Regions from separate parts of the Homo sapiens genome. Here region 2 is linked to region 1. The links are contacts of gene promoters, found by promoter capture Hi-C in human tissues and cell types (Jung and others, 2019). All regions are on one chromosome and are shown on one strand. The core of a region is centred on a gene start or on the middle of the fragment in contact, and the rest is flanking DNA. Distances in the headings are between cores, read along the strand shown.

Evidence for each region. The method cuts DNA at HindIII sites, captures the fragments that hold promoters and counts their contacts. A contact is called where the count stands out against the background at its distance.
Region 2: a fragment that was not itself captured here is called in contact with the fragment with the promoter of UBE4B in region 1 in 1 of the 25 tissues and cell types used here (hippocampus).

The regions. Positions count from the first base shown.
Region 1 is chr1:10,029,285-10,035,458 of GRCh38, reverse strand. It overlaps UBE4B (ubiquitination factor E4B), which reads right to left and starts at 2,501. Exons shown (of 28, transcript NM_001105562.3): 1 at 1,765-2,501. The coding sequence starts at 1,788. RefSeq lists enhancers at 1,634-1,683, 2,075-2,729 and silencers at 2,244-2,463, 2,494-2,883. The HindIII fragment of the contact is 12,263 bases long and covers 31-6,174 here.
Region 2 is chr1:10,177,831-10,184,004 of GRCh38, reverse strand. UBE4B (ubiquitination factor E4B) reads right to left here. Exons shown (of 28, transcript NM_001105562.3): 26 at 5,187-5,361; 27 at 4,443-4,589; 28 at 2,766-4,110. The coding sequence ends at 4,049. Among named protein-coding and RNA genes, the nearest start is that of KIF1B, 30 kb to the left of the region's middle. The HindIII fragment of the contact is 5,206 bases long and covers 1-4,849 here.

The DNA of each region.
Region 1 (6,174 bases), core at 1,252-3,751:
CGCCACTGCACTCCAGCCTGGGCGACAGAGCGAGACTCCGCCTCAAAAAAAAAAAAAAAAAAAAAAAAACAGTATCTCTGCCTTAAGAGAAATTACTCACTAGAATTAACATTAATGAAAAACGGGGGAGGTAGAGAAACTTTTAAAAAACCACATAAAACAGGCCAGGCGCGGTGGCTCACGCCTGTAATCCCAGCACTTTGGGAGGCTGAGGCGGGTGCATCACGAGGTCAAGAGATGGAGACCATCCTGGCCAACATGGTGAAACCCCATCTCTACTAAAAATACAAAAAATAGCCGGGCGTGGTAGCGGGCGCCTGTAGTCCCAGCTACTCAGGGGGCTGAGGCAGGAGAATGGTGTGAACCCGGGAGGCGGAGCTTGCAGTGAGACGAGATCGCGCCACTGCACTGCAGCCTGGGCGACAGAGCAAGACTCCGTCTCAAAAAAACAAACAAACAAAAAAAAACCCACATAAAATAAAGCGATTCTAAGGAGATTTCCTACCGAATGAAAGAAACTGTGTAATATTCTCTTCACTTAAGATTACATTTCTGCTGTATTCGAAAAAAACAAAGTAACGCCGAATGGGCAGTCCTGATTTTCCAAACCAAGTATCCAAGTATCACAATCAACAAAATCATTTGCTTCCTTTCCTACCTGACCCTTAACACACCACTGCGTGTCCTATCCCAGGAGAATTTCAGTCCCTAAGTAAACACACTAAGTACTCTGTAGCTAAAACTGGAGCATGGAAGTCTTGTAGTACAATCAACTTGATGGATGACTGCTTTCCTAATACTGTAGGGAAGTTTACATGATGAACCAGTGAAGAAATGTGGAGGTAGGCTAAAGAGGGTATGGCCAGTAGGGGTCCTGAAAGGGAAGCTCCTAATTTGCAAAAAGGAAGAGAAAAGGCAGTAGAATCATAGGAAATTCCTTGTACCCTAATTGCCACTGCTTTTTGGTTGTTTTTTTTTTTACAACAACCTAATTTATTAAACAATCTTTAAAACATCAAGAAGTAGATCTGTATAACTCCTTTAAGAAATGAGAACAGGAGAGAGTTTAGAAAGTCATTTGCTTCCACTTGCTTCCCGTTCAGTCTCTGCTACAGCAAAACACAAGTTTGAAAGATTCAAGAAGTAGGAAAAGATAGAATGTAACAGAAGAATGCCAGAAGTCATTAGTGGTCTATTAAGTACCAGAATATAACTGGAATTCTCTAAACTGTGGAGAAGATACATATTTTGTTAAATATCAAAGAATCTGTCTGTAAACCACCCCTCAAGCAAAAATATATGTTTAATCAAGCTTATACAGTGCAATAACCACACATATCTGGAATTTCAAATGCTTTCTTTAAAAATATTCACCCACCATACATTCTCATTCCATCCAAAATTGTTCTTTAAATTCCTGAAGACACAGACACACACACACTTTAACTTCATGTAAATCTCGCCCTTCTTGTTCGCATACCCTGAAGAAAAGAATAAACACCTCAAGATGCTCTCTCCTCTTGTTCATACCCTAAAAGAACACTCGGAAAGAAGCAAATGGAGTTCAGAATGAAGAAAGAAGGCAACAGAATAAAGGAGAACAAAACCAGAGACCCTATCGGGGAGTCACGTTATTCTTGGAAAATATCATCTCCGTTCCTTCTCCAAGCCCAAAGGCCAGACAGCACTGGCGCAATACCATCCCTGTCCAAAGCGCTAACGAGTTGCCAACTAATCCCTCAAGGTGTCCCCCAACCTCCTCACCTCATCAGCGCTCAGCTCCTCCATCGCTTTCCTCTTAATGGTGAAAGGCGTTAAGGAGAGATCCTTCTGTTCTCGAGACCACGGCGGGAGGAAGGAGAGTGGAAGGTGTCTATCAGGCTGTCTGGTCCCCCGAATGGGGGAGGTTTCAGAATTGCATAGTCAGAGGTTAAAAAATAAGAACACGAGAGGCACTAAACTGCCTTGGCTTCGGTCACTCCAGTCGCCCCACAGACTACTACAGCCGCTTGTTCCCTGAGCAGCCTCCTTTGGCCGCCACTGCTGCTGCTACAGGGTTGTCTTAAGGCGCCACTTATTACCCTCTGCTTCCCAGGTTACCCAGCTAGGCAGCGCGGTCTCCAGTTCGTCTCGTGCCCCGAGCCTGCTGTTTCTTCGTGATAGTGGCGCGGTAGCTGCGTTCCTACAGCAGATCCTGCTCTCCTTCCTACCCTTTGCTCCTGGCGGGAACTGGTCGACTGCAGAGTGGATACCCCGAGGTAAGGCGACCCCACAGCCGTCCTGGCAGAGCCCAGCACTGTAAGGGAAGCCCCTCCCCTCCCAAAGCAGGCCGGCCACGCCCCGCCTCCACGCCGGAGCCCGGGTAGGGGGGAGGGGGAGGATGGGATGCGCGTAGCTCTCGCTGGAAGAGTAAATCCTCCTACCCCTCCACCCCTACTCTTTCCCCCTCGCCCCACCAAGTATTATTCATCAAAACAACAGGGCGGCCATCTTTGAAAGGGATCACGTGACCCCCGTCAGGGAGGCGGGGCTTCTGGCGCCGGGACGTGGCAGCCAATAGGCCGCGGGCGCCGCGCCGCCGAGTTCCTCTCGCCTGCGTCCTCTCCCCGCCTCCGTCCCACCCCGTCCCGCGCAGCCGCGCCGGACGTGGGGAGGGGCAAAGGGAGGCTGGCGGCTGGGCGGGGCGTTGCCACGGCGACCGCGCTGGGGCTGCGGGCGCGGCGGGCCTGAGCCAGGTAGGCTGGCAAGGGGAGGGACGACTCCCAGACTCGCGTCGGGGAAGATCCACCAGAAGGTGGCGCTGGCCCGCGGCCCGGGGGCCCGCCGCGCCTCCGTTGTTCCCAATCGCCTGCTTTTCTGTGACTTGGGGGCCTAGAAACACCTCATCGCTCCCACTGGACTGTGCGCGCCCGCCGCCTAAGCGAGGGAAAAGAAAACGGAAAACGTCTCCTTGACCCCGGGAGCGTGATCTACCGTATTGAGCGCTCATTTTCTGAAACATCTGCCACACACTCTTCCACCTCCTCCAGGAAAGCCCAGTTGGAAGAAAACTCGAACACAAGAACTCCCATTCATTTTATTTTACCTTGGCCTTTTAGAGATACTTCCTGGGTTTTTTTTTTTTTAAGTGTGTTCAAAAAGTATTGGTAAAATTTGAAAGTATAAATGGATGAGAGACCCAAATCACTGAATTGTACACAGCAAATGCAAGGAAGACGTTTGGAGTCAGTGGGGGAAAACCATCCTCCGGTGCACAAGAATACAAATATTTGGCCGGGCGCGGTGGCTCACGCCTGTAATCCCAGCACTTTGGGAGGCCGAGGCGGGCGGATCACGAGGTCAGGAGATCGAGACCATCCTGGCTAACACGGTGAAACCCCGTCTCTACTAAAAAATACAAAAAATCAGCCAGATGTGGCGGCGGGCGCCTGTAGTCCCGGCTACTCGGGAGGCTGAGGCAGGAGAATGGCGTGAACCCGGGAGGCGGAGCTTGCAGTGAGCCGAGATCGCGCCACTGCACTCCAGCCTGGGCGACAGAGCGCGACTCCATCTCAAAAAATATATATATATGTATGTATATATATATTTATAAAATATAAATCTAAGTTGAGCGATCAAAGTAACAGTACCATGAAATTCCAGATTTTGCCGCTGACGAAGACTATAAGTGGATTGGATGGCTCACTAAGCCATAAAGACTGCATTCCAGAATTAAGAGTTACAATGTATTTGCTACATGCTTAAAATAGGAACCTGACTACTAGATATGTAAGGAATTTGTGAGTAAAAATATGTAAGGAATTTGTGAGTAAAAATAAATCACTGCTGGCTTTGCATATTATCTGCTCTCCAGGAAAGGAATTCTGTGTAAGCCAGAACTTGAACCCCTGGTGACATTGATGTTAAAAGTTTACTTTTTTTAACCTCATTATTGCCATCTAATTTACATACCATACAATTCACCCAATTAAGGTGTACAGTGGTTTTATTATGTTCACAGTTCAGTCATCCTCACTGTCCAATTTCAGAACATTTTCATCATCCCAAAAAGAAACCCTCAAAGCCATTAACAGTCACTCCCGGGCTGGGCGCAGTGGCTCACGCCTGTAATCCCAGCCCTTTGGGAGGCCAAGGCGGGTGGATCAAGAGGTCCGGAGTTTAAGACCAGCCTGGCCAAGATGGTGAAATACAAAATACAAAAATTAGAAGGGCGTGGTGGCGGGCACCTGTAATCCCAGCTACTTGGGAGTCTGAGGCAAAGAATTGCTTGAACCCGGGAGGCAGAAGTTGCAAGGAGCCGAGATCGTGCCACTGCACTCCAGCCTGGGCAACAGAGCGAGACTCCGTCACAAAAAAAAAAGACTCCTGCAGGATAACTACCTTCTGTCTTGGTGAATTTGCCTATTCTGGACATTTCACATCAGTGGAGCAATACACCGTGTGGCCTTTGGGGTTTGGCTTCCTTCACTTAGCATATGTTTTCAAGGTTCACGCATATTGTAGCATATATCTGTACTTCATTTCTTTAATGCCAAATGTATCACTGTATTGCTGTAGCGCATTTTGTTTATCAATTCATAGTGATATTTGGGTTGTTTCCACCTTTTGACAATTATGAGTAATGCTGCTATAAACATTCATGTACAAGTGTTTGTTTGGACATATGTTTTTATTTTTATTCCTTTTAGGCATATACCTAGGAGAGGAATTGCAGGATTACATGTTTGACTTTTTGAGAAACTGTCAAACTGTTTTCCAAAGCAGCTGCACTGCCACCAGCAATGTGTGAGGGTTCTAACTTCTCTACATCTCTACCAACAATGGTTTTTGTCTGTCTTTTTTATTGTAGCCACACCAGTAGATGTGAAATGGTATCTCTTTGTGGTTTTGTTTTTCATTTTCCTAGGAGCTAATGATGTTGAACATCTGCTTAGGTTTATCTTCTTTGGACAAATACCTATTCATTCATATTCTCTGTTCTTTTTTTTTTTTTTTTTTTTTTTTGAGATGGAGTCTTGCTCTGTCACCAGGCTGGAGTGCAGTGGCGCGATCTCAGCTCACTGCAACCTCCACCTCCCAGGTTCAAGTGATTCTCCTGCCTCAGCCTCCCAAGTAGCTGGGCCTACAGGCGCCCACCAGCATGCCTGGCTAATTTTTGTATTCTTAGTAGAGATGAGATTTCACCACGTTGGCCAGGATGCTCTCGTGGATCTCTTGACCTCGTAATCCGCCCACCTCCGCCTCCCAAAATGCTGGGGTTACAGGCATGAGCCACTGTGCCCGGCTTTTTCTCTTTCTTTTCTTTTTTCTTTTTTTTAAGACAGAATCTTGCTCTGTCACCCAGGCTGGAGTGCACTGACACAATCTCGGCTCACCGCAACCTCTGCCTCCTGGGTTCAAGCGCTTCTCCTGCCTCAGCCTCCCGAGTAGCTGGGATTACAAGCATGGGCCACCACGCCCGGCTAATTTTTGTATTTTTAGTAGAGACAGGGTTTTGCCATGTTAGCCAGGCTGATCTCAAACTCCTGACCTCAAGTGATCCACCCACATCGGCCTCCCAAAGTGCTGGAATTACAGGCGTGAGCCACTGCACCTGGCCCTCTGTTTTTTTGTGTGTGTTTTTGTTTTTTTGTTTTGTTTTTCTTTTTCCCTCTGTTCATTTTTAATTGGGTTGTCTTCTTTTTTTTTTCTTTTTTTTTATTTATTTTTTTTATTGATCATTCTTGGGTGTTTCTTGCAGAGGGGGATTTGGCAGGGTCATAGGACAATAGTGGAGGGAAGGTCAGCAGATAAACAAGTGAACAAAGGTCTCTGGTTTTCCTAGGCAGAGGACCCTGCAGCCCTCCGCAGTGTTTGTGTCCCTGGGTACTTGAGATTAGGGAGTGGTGATGACTGTTAATGAGCATGCTGCCTTCAAGCATCTGTTTAACAAAGCACATCTTGCACCGCTCTTAATCCATTTAACCCTGAGTGGACACAGCACATGTTTCAGAGAGCACAGGGTTGGGGGCAAGGTCACAGATCAACAGGATCCCAAGGCAGAAGAATTTTTCTTAGTACAGAACAAAATGAAAAGTCTCCCATGTCTACTTCCTTCTACACAGGCACGGCAACCATCCGATTTCTCAATCCTTTCCCCACCTTTCCCCACTTTCTATTCCACAAAACCGCCAG
Region 2 (6,174 bases), core at 997-3,496, 150 kb before region 1:
ACGAATGAAAGCTGTGATATTGAAGTTATCTAATTGTTTAAAATGGGGGTTAGGTCTAGAGCTGATCTCAAGGCCAAAGTCCCTTCCAAAATGCTATGCTGCTTCTCCTTGGGCATTCTGAGCTATTCTGAACTTCTAGCATTCTGGAACTCTGCCATACAGCAGGAGTCGGGAAGAGATGAGGCTGGAAAGGCCAGATGGCCTAGATTCATGTGCCAGTTCCACTACATTATGGTTGTGGAGGGTTAAATTAATTAATATATGTGGCCGGGTGCGGTGGCTCTTGTCTGTAATCCCAGCACTTTGGGAGGCCAAGGCAGGTGGATCACGAGGTCAGGAGATCGAGACCACCCTGGCTAACACGGTGAAACCCTGTCTCTACTAAAAATACAAAAAATTAGCTGGGCATGGTGGCGGACACCTGTAGTCCCAGCTACTCGGGAGGCTGAGGCAGGAGAATGGCGTGAACTTGGGAGGCGGAGCTTGCAGTGAGCCGAGATCGCGCCACTGCACTCCAGCCTGGGCGACAGAGCGAGACTCTGTCTCAAAAAAAAAAAAAAAATTAATACATGTAAGAGTGGCTTGCACATAGAATATGCTCATGAAATGCAAATGATCATCACCAATTCAGAATGACTTTCTTCACCAACACTATCTGACACCAGCATCAAGCTCATAGGCTACTGTGTCTCCTTCAATCAAAAACGTACCTTGAGGCCTGGTGTGGTGGCTCATGCCTGTAATCCCAGCACTTCGGGAGGCTGAGGCAGGTGGATCACTTGAGGTCTGGAGTTCAAGACCAGCCTGGCCAACATGGTGAAACCCCATCTCTACTAAAAAAAAAAAAAAAAAAAAAAAAAAATTAGCTGGACATGGTGGCATGTGCTCTAGTCCCAGCTACTCGGGAGGCTAAGGCAGGAGAATCACTTGAACCTGGAAGGTGGAGGTTGCAATGAGCCAAAATTGCGCCACTGCACTCCAGCCTGGGTGACGGAGCGAGACTCCGTCTGAAAAAAACCAAAAAACAAAAAAAAGTACCTACTCAAATGAGGCCTATTCATGTCACTTTAGCACTCCAATCAAATTGCTGTGAAATTCACTACTCGATGTACCAAACCCAGAGGTTACAAAAAGTGAACGGTGTGCTCAGCTTTTTTTTCAAAAGATATTCAATCAATATCTTTTTAAAATCTACACAACACTGAGTCACAACACAAGGCAGATTTTAATCATCTTTCTCTCAAGGATCATTTCTCTTCTGCCAATCTGATTCTCTTATTTGACAATCTTCCTTTTAGCCAAGACCTACTTTTAATATATTTTGGGATTTATTTCAATATCCACAATTAAGAGACTGCAGACAAACACAAAACAGCAACTCTTGAGACTCTAAAAATGGAAACCCAAATCATCTTCCCCCTATAGATAGTACAGGCAGGAGACTGACTGTGTCTCTGTCCTATCCGGCAGGTCCTTGAAACCTCTGAATTATTCAAAACGACAAGTGCATATGGCGGTATAAAGCAGCATTTTATTACATTCACGGGGACAACTGGAGGATTAAAATAAGAGTTTGGAATCTGGGATGGAGAGGAGACAAGCAGTACACACTGGTCAGATAACCACACAAACAAAATTAGGCAAGATGCCAGTCAGTATCCTAATTCTACAGGCACTAAGCTTAGATATGTAAGTTTAGTAAAAAGTAAACCCAATTAAACAGAATCTTCTGCATGGTGAGAATATGGATTTTTTTTCTTTTTGCTTATATTGCCTAAAATTTTTGCTATCATGAACTTTTTCCTTATTTATTGTGTCTATCTATCTATCTATTTTTTGAGACGAAGTCTCACTCTTGTCCCCTAGGCTGGAGTGCGATGGCGCGATCTCAGCTCACTGCAACCTCCACCTCCTGGGTTCAAGCAATTCTCCTGCCTCGGCCCCCCGAGTAGCTGGGATTATAGGCACCCACCACCACGCCCAGCTAATTTTTGTATTTTCAGTTGAGATGGGGTTTCACCATGTTGGCCAGGCTGGTCTAGAACTCCTGACCTCAGACGATACACCTGCCTTGGCCTCCCAAAGTGCTGGGATTACAGGCGTGAGCCACCGCACCTGGCCATGTTATATATATATATATAAATATATATAAATAAATATATATGTAAATATATATAAATATATATTTTTTCTTTTTTGAGACGGAGTCTCGCTGTCACCCAGGCTGGAGTGTGATGACGTCATCTCGGCTCACTGCAACCTCCACCTCCCAGGTTCAAGCAATTCTCCTGTCTCAGCCTCCCGAGTAGCTGGGACTACAGGCGCTGCCACTACGCCCGGCTAATTTTTTGTATTTTTAGTAGAGATGGGGTTTCACCATGCTGGCCAGGCTGGTCTCGAATTCCTGACGTCAGGTGATCCATCCGCCTCAGCCTCCCAAAGTGCTGGGATTACAGGCGTGAGCCACCGGGCCCGGCCTGAGGAAGAATCTTGAAGGTCAGGGAAGATACTTGAGATAAAGCAGAAGAAACTCAAGAAAGGCAGAAGACTGAATATGACAAAGCTTACCCCCTCAAATCAGCAAACAGTGAAATGAGAACCAAATGTCGAGACTGACATGAATAAGAAAGTTTTCTTTTAAAAATAGCAGCTCCTAATTGGATCCAGGAAAGATCATTCACCACATGCAAACTCACTTGGCTCTTGTTTACCCACCCGCCCTGCCCTTTTTTTTTTTCCACAAAAGAGAAGAGACTCAAAGAAGATTTCTTCTGAACGTGTGTCACCATTTATTGTAGTTTGCGTTAGGAATTGAACAGAGGACATTGTCTGTGGAGGGAAAAAAGGAAAAGAAAAAAGAAAGTATGCTTTTTATAGACTTAATTTCTTCAGAACACTTTATGGTTTCAAATCCTTTTTTTTTTTTTACCCCAAAGGAAATTTGAGAATTCAAGTATGTTAAGTAGGGAGCAGTAATACAAAAAGTCTTATACTTGTGTGCGCGTGTGGCTGTGTTTGTCTGTGTGTGTTGAAACCGGCAGACATACTCCCACATTCTTGCACCCTCTTTTGCTTTGGTAAGGCCAAACACATCACACAAATGACCCTGCCTCAAACTCACACACCCAAGGGTTGAAGAATTGATTTACCCCCAGAGGATAACTGTGAAGGTTTCAAACTGTCACGTAGCATTAAAAAAAAAACCCAACCCTCATCTCCCCAAAATATAAGTCACATAAGTCCTGATACACTTACACCCCTAGATTTTGCTGCAGCTGCTCCTCAGATGCCGAAGAGAGGCTTATCACAAGGACCAGAGCAGCAGGATTTTCTTTATTTTGTTTAGAATAAAAAAATCTTAAAGGGACATTTCAAAAGAAAAAAAAAACTGAAATTCAAATTCTGAAAATATCTTGCCTTTTTTATTAATCATGTCATCTAACACCAATTAAAAAAACAAATATGTGAATATGATATAAAAATACGATCCCAGGATTAACACTTGGTAGCAGGCACAGTTATCTCACAGAATATATGTTTGGAGGGCCAGGGAAAGGAGTTTACTTTTGTTTTTGCTTCTCTTAAAAAAATCCACAGCAGTGCAAGTAGGGTCAGGAAGGGGGAGAGGGGAAAAAAGATTCTTTAGCAGCAAAATGTCCAAGGTTCTCTAATCACAATCAAATCAACGGATATTGGATTAAAAAAAAATTCATGAAGGGATGCTGCCCAGACCCATTAGCCATCACTAAAAGACTTCCGTTGCCCCAAACTGTGACATACGAAGGACATGCTTTATTACACAAGCAACCATAAAACCTGTCCCTTAAGCTTTTGACCGTGTTTGTCACTTAAATATATGTACAGGAAGCGGGCTCCTCTTCTCATCCATGTCCTTTCAGGTCTCAGCGTTTGCTCGCTCTGGGTGGGCCTGGGGTTGGTTTGCCACATTTGGCCTCCAACACATGAACGGCAGCTTCGCTGCGGCCGCTGCTTCTGCTTGCCTCGTTGGCCTTGGCTGTGTCTAGCAGAGGGTGGGCGGCGGAACGGTTTAGTGATCGCTGTTCTGTTTCTCTCTCATCCACGCCTGAATCTGCTCTTTCAGTTCTGGCACTGAGAAAAGAAAAAAAGGAGGATTAATGCCCCAGATGGGAGGGCTCTTCCTGAGAGAGGATGCTTGTCGCTCTGTATAAATGGGAAGAAAAGGCCATTCTTTCCCTCATTGAGCCGAAGACTCCAGAAGGACTGGGACATGAGAGGGAGGGACTGGATGTCTGCAGGGAAAAAGGGCCAAGAGTGTTTTGGGTCTTTGCTACAGAGTGTCATAAAGTAGGTAGTTTCTGCATTTGATAAATTTCCCTTCTGCTTCATCTCCAATATGTGACTTGGGCTTTATCTCTTGGTACTGACGCCAGCGCTGCACCTCAAACTGCACCCTCCTCTACCTGGTTCCAGCATGCTCTCTGTCAGCGTCTGCCGGTTGAAGGGGTCCGTGGGGGAGTTGAGCAGGTGCCGCAGGATGATGGAGCGGTCCATGATGGTGCCAGAGGGCAGCCGCACGGGGTCTGTCATGAGGGTGTCCATCAGAGGGTCTGCGGGGACAAAGCAAAGCAAACTCTAATCTACTGAGAGCCCACGACTGAAAAAGAAAACAAAGCCCGTTCTACCAGCGAAAAATCTATCCAAAGGAACAGCAATCAAAGGGCCCCTGTGAGGCCCCCAGGTTTAGAAGGAAATCAGCCTTCAATAAAGGCATATACATTGCCTTTTGTAAGGGGAAGGCGCTTCTTTGTCAGCTACTGCTGGGGGGAGGGAACAGAGAAGAAAGCCTGGGACAGACCCAGCAGCAGGCCCCACAGGCTCCGTGGCGAGGACGGCAGGCTGGAATTCTTTGTCTTAGGACTTCTGGGAATTCTTTGAAAATGTGAATCCCCACTTGCAAAGGCAGCCCTGCCCTTAGAATCTTCAGGGTTGTTATCTGGCTTTAAGTCAGGCTAAGCTAAGGATGTTTCTTCCTCTCAATTTACAATATGAGCTAAAAATAGGCAAATGTAATTTAAGACAGATTGTCTCAAAAAGCAGCTCTAGCACACCATTAAAAAATTAATTGCACAGGACGTCCTCTTGTAATGTTATCGATTTCCAGTTAACTCAAAAGAAATCAGCATGAAAACGACGAGTCCACTTGCCTCTGAACTCATCAGGAGCGTCGCTGTAGTCGATTTCTGCGCGTGCGTTCTTGGCCACTATCTCCTCCACTTTCTCGGCGAGCAGCTTAAATTTTTCTATTGCTATTGTGGATTTGATCCCTGCCTTCCGCATCTTTGAAATAACTTCTTCAAACAATTCCTTACTGTAGGATCTCTGCAAAGGAGGAATGGCAATGTGAGACGTAAATGTACGTCAGGTGGAAAAAAGCGAGCTGCAGAAAATATCCAAAGTATTATCCATTTGTGGATTTTCCCCCACTAAAAAAGCCCTAAAATTATATATACACTTATATATTTTATATATCCGTCTTTATGCATTTATAGCCTCATAAAAGTATGCACTTTTTATGCTTACAAATGGATAAAGACTGGAATAATATGTGCCAAACTGTACGAGGTCACTCCCTCTGGAGAGGGCTGCAGGACTGAGGCAGACGGGCTTTTTTTTTGAATTTTTACAGCTAGCACGCATTTCTTTTAAAGTTTAAACATTAAAAAGAGAAGGAAATCTAGTCTATTTCAGTCCTTGGGGGGCACTGTGCCCTGGCAGCCTATAAGAAAGAAGAGGTGAAAATTTCAGCTCTCTTCCACAAAGGTAAGCATGGTAAAAACAATCCACTATTGTTCATACTCTAGAGGAGCCTTCTCCTGTTCACTTTCAAGCTTCTTCAAGCTCATTTAGTTCAGCACTAGCACATGTCAGGGGCTCCATGGACGTTAGACCACCCTGGTGAACTGATGAATAGGCCTGGGAACAGACACGATTTATGTCCCCAGGAAGGGAAGTTGTGGAGTGGAGGTCAGGCGCCCACCGTGGACCCAGACAAATCTGAACTTGAATTCTGGCTCTACCACCTACCAGCTGTGCAGTCGTAGGCAAATCTGAACCCTCCTAAGCCCAGGTTCTTTGAGTGTAAAATGGGCAGAGTAACATCTACCTCACAGGTGCCTAATTCATAAAAATCAC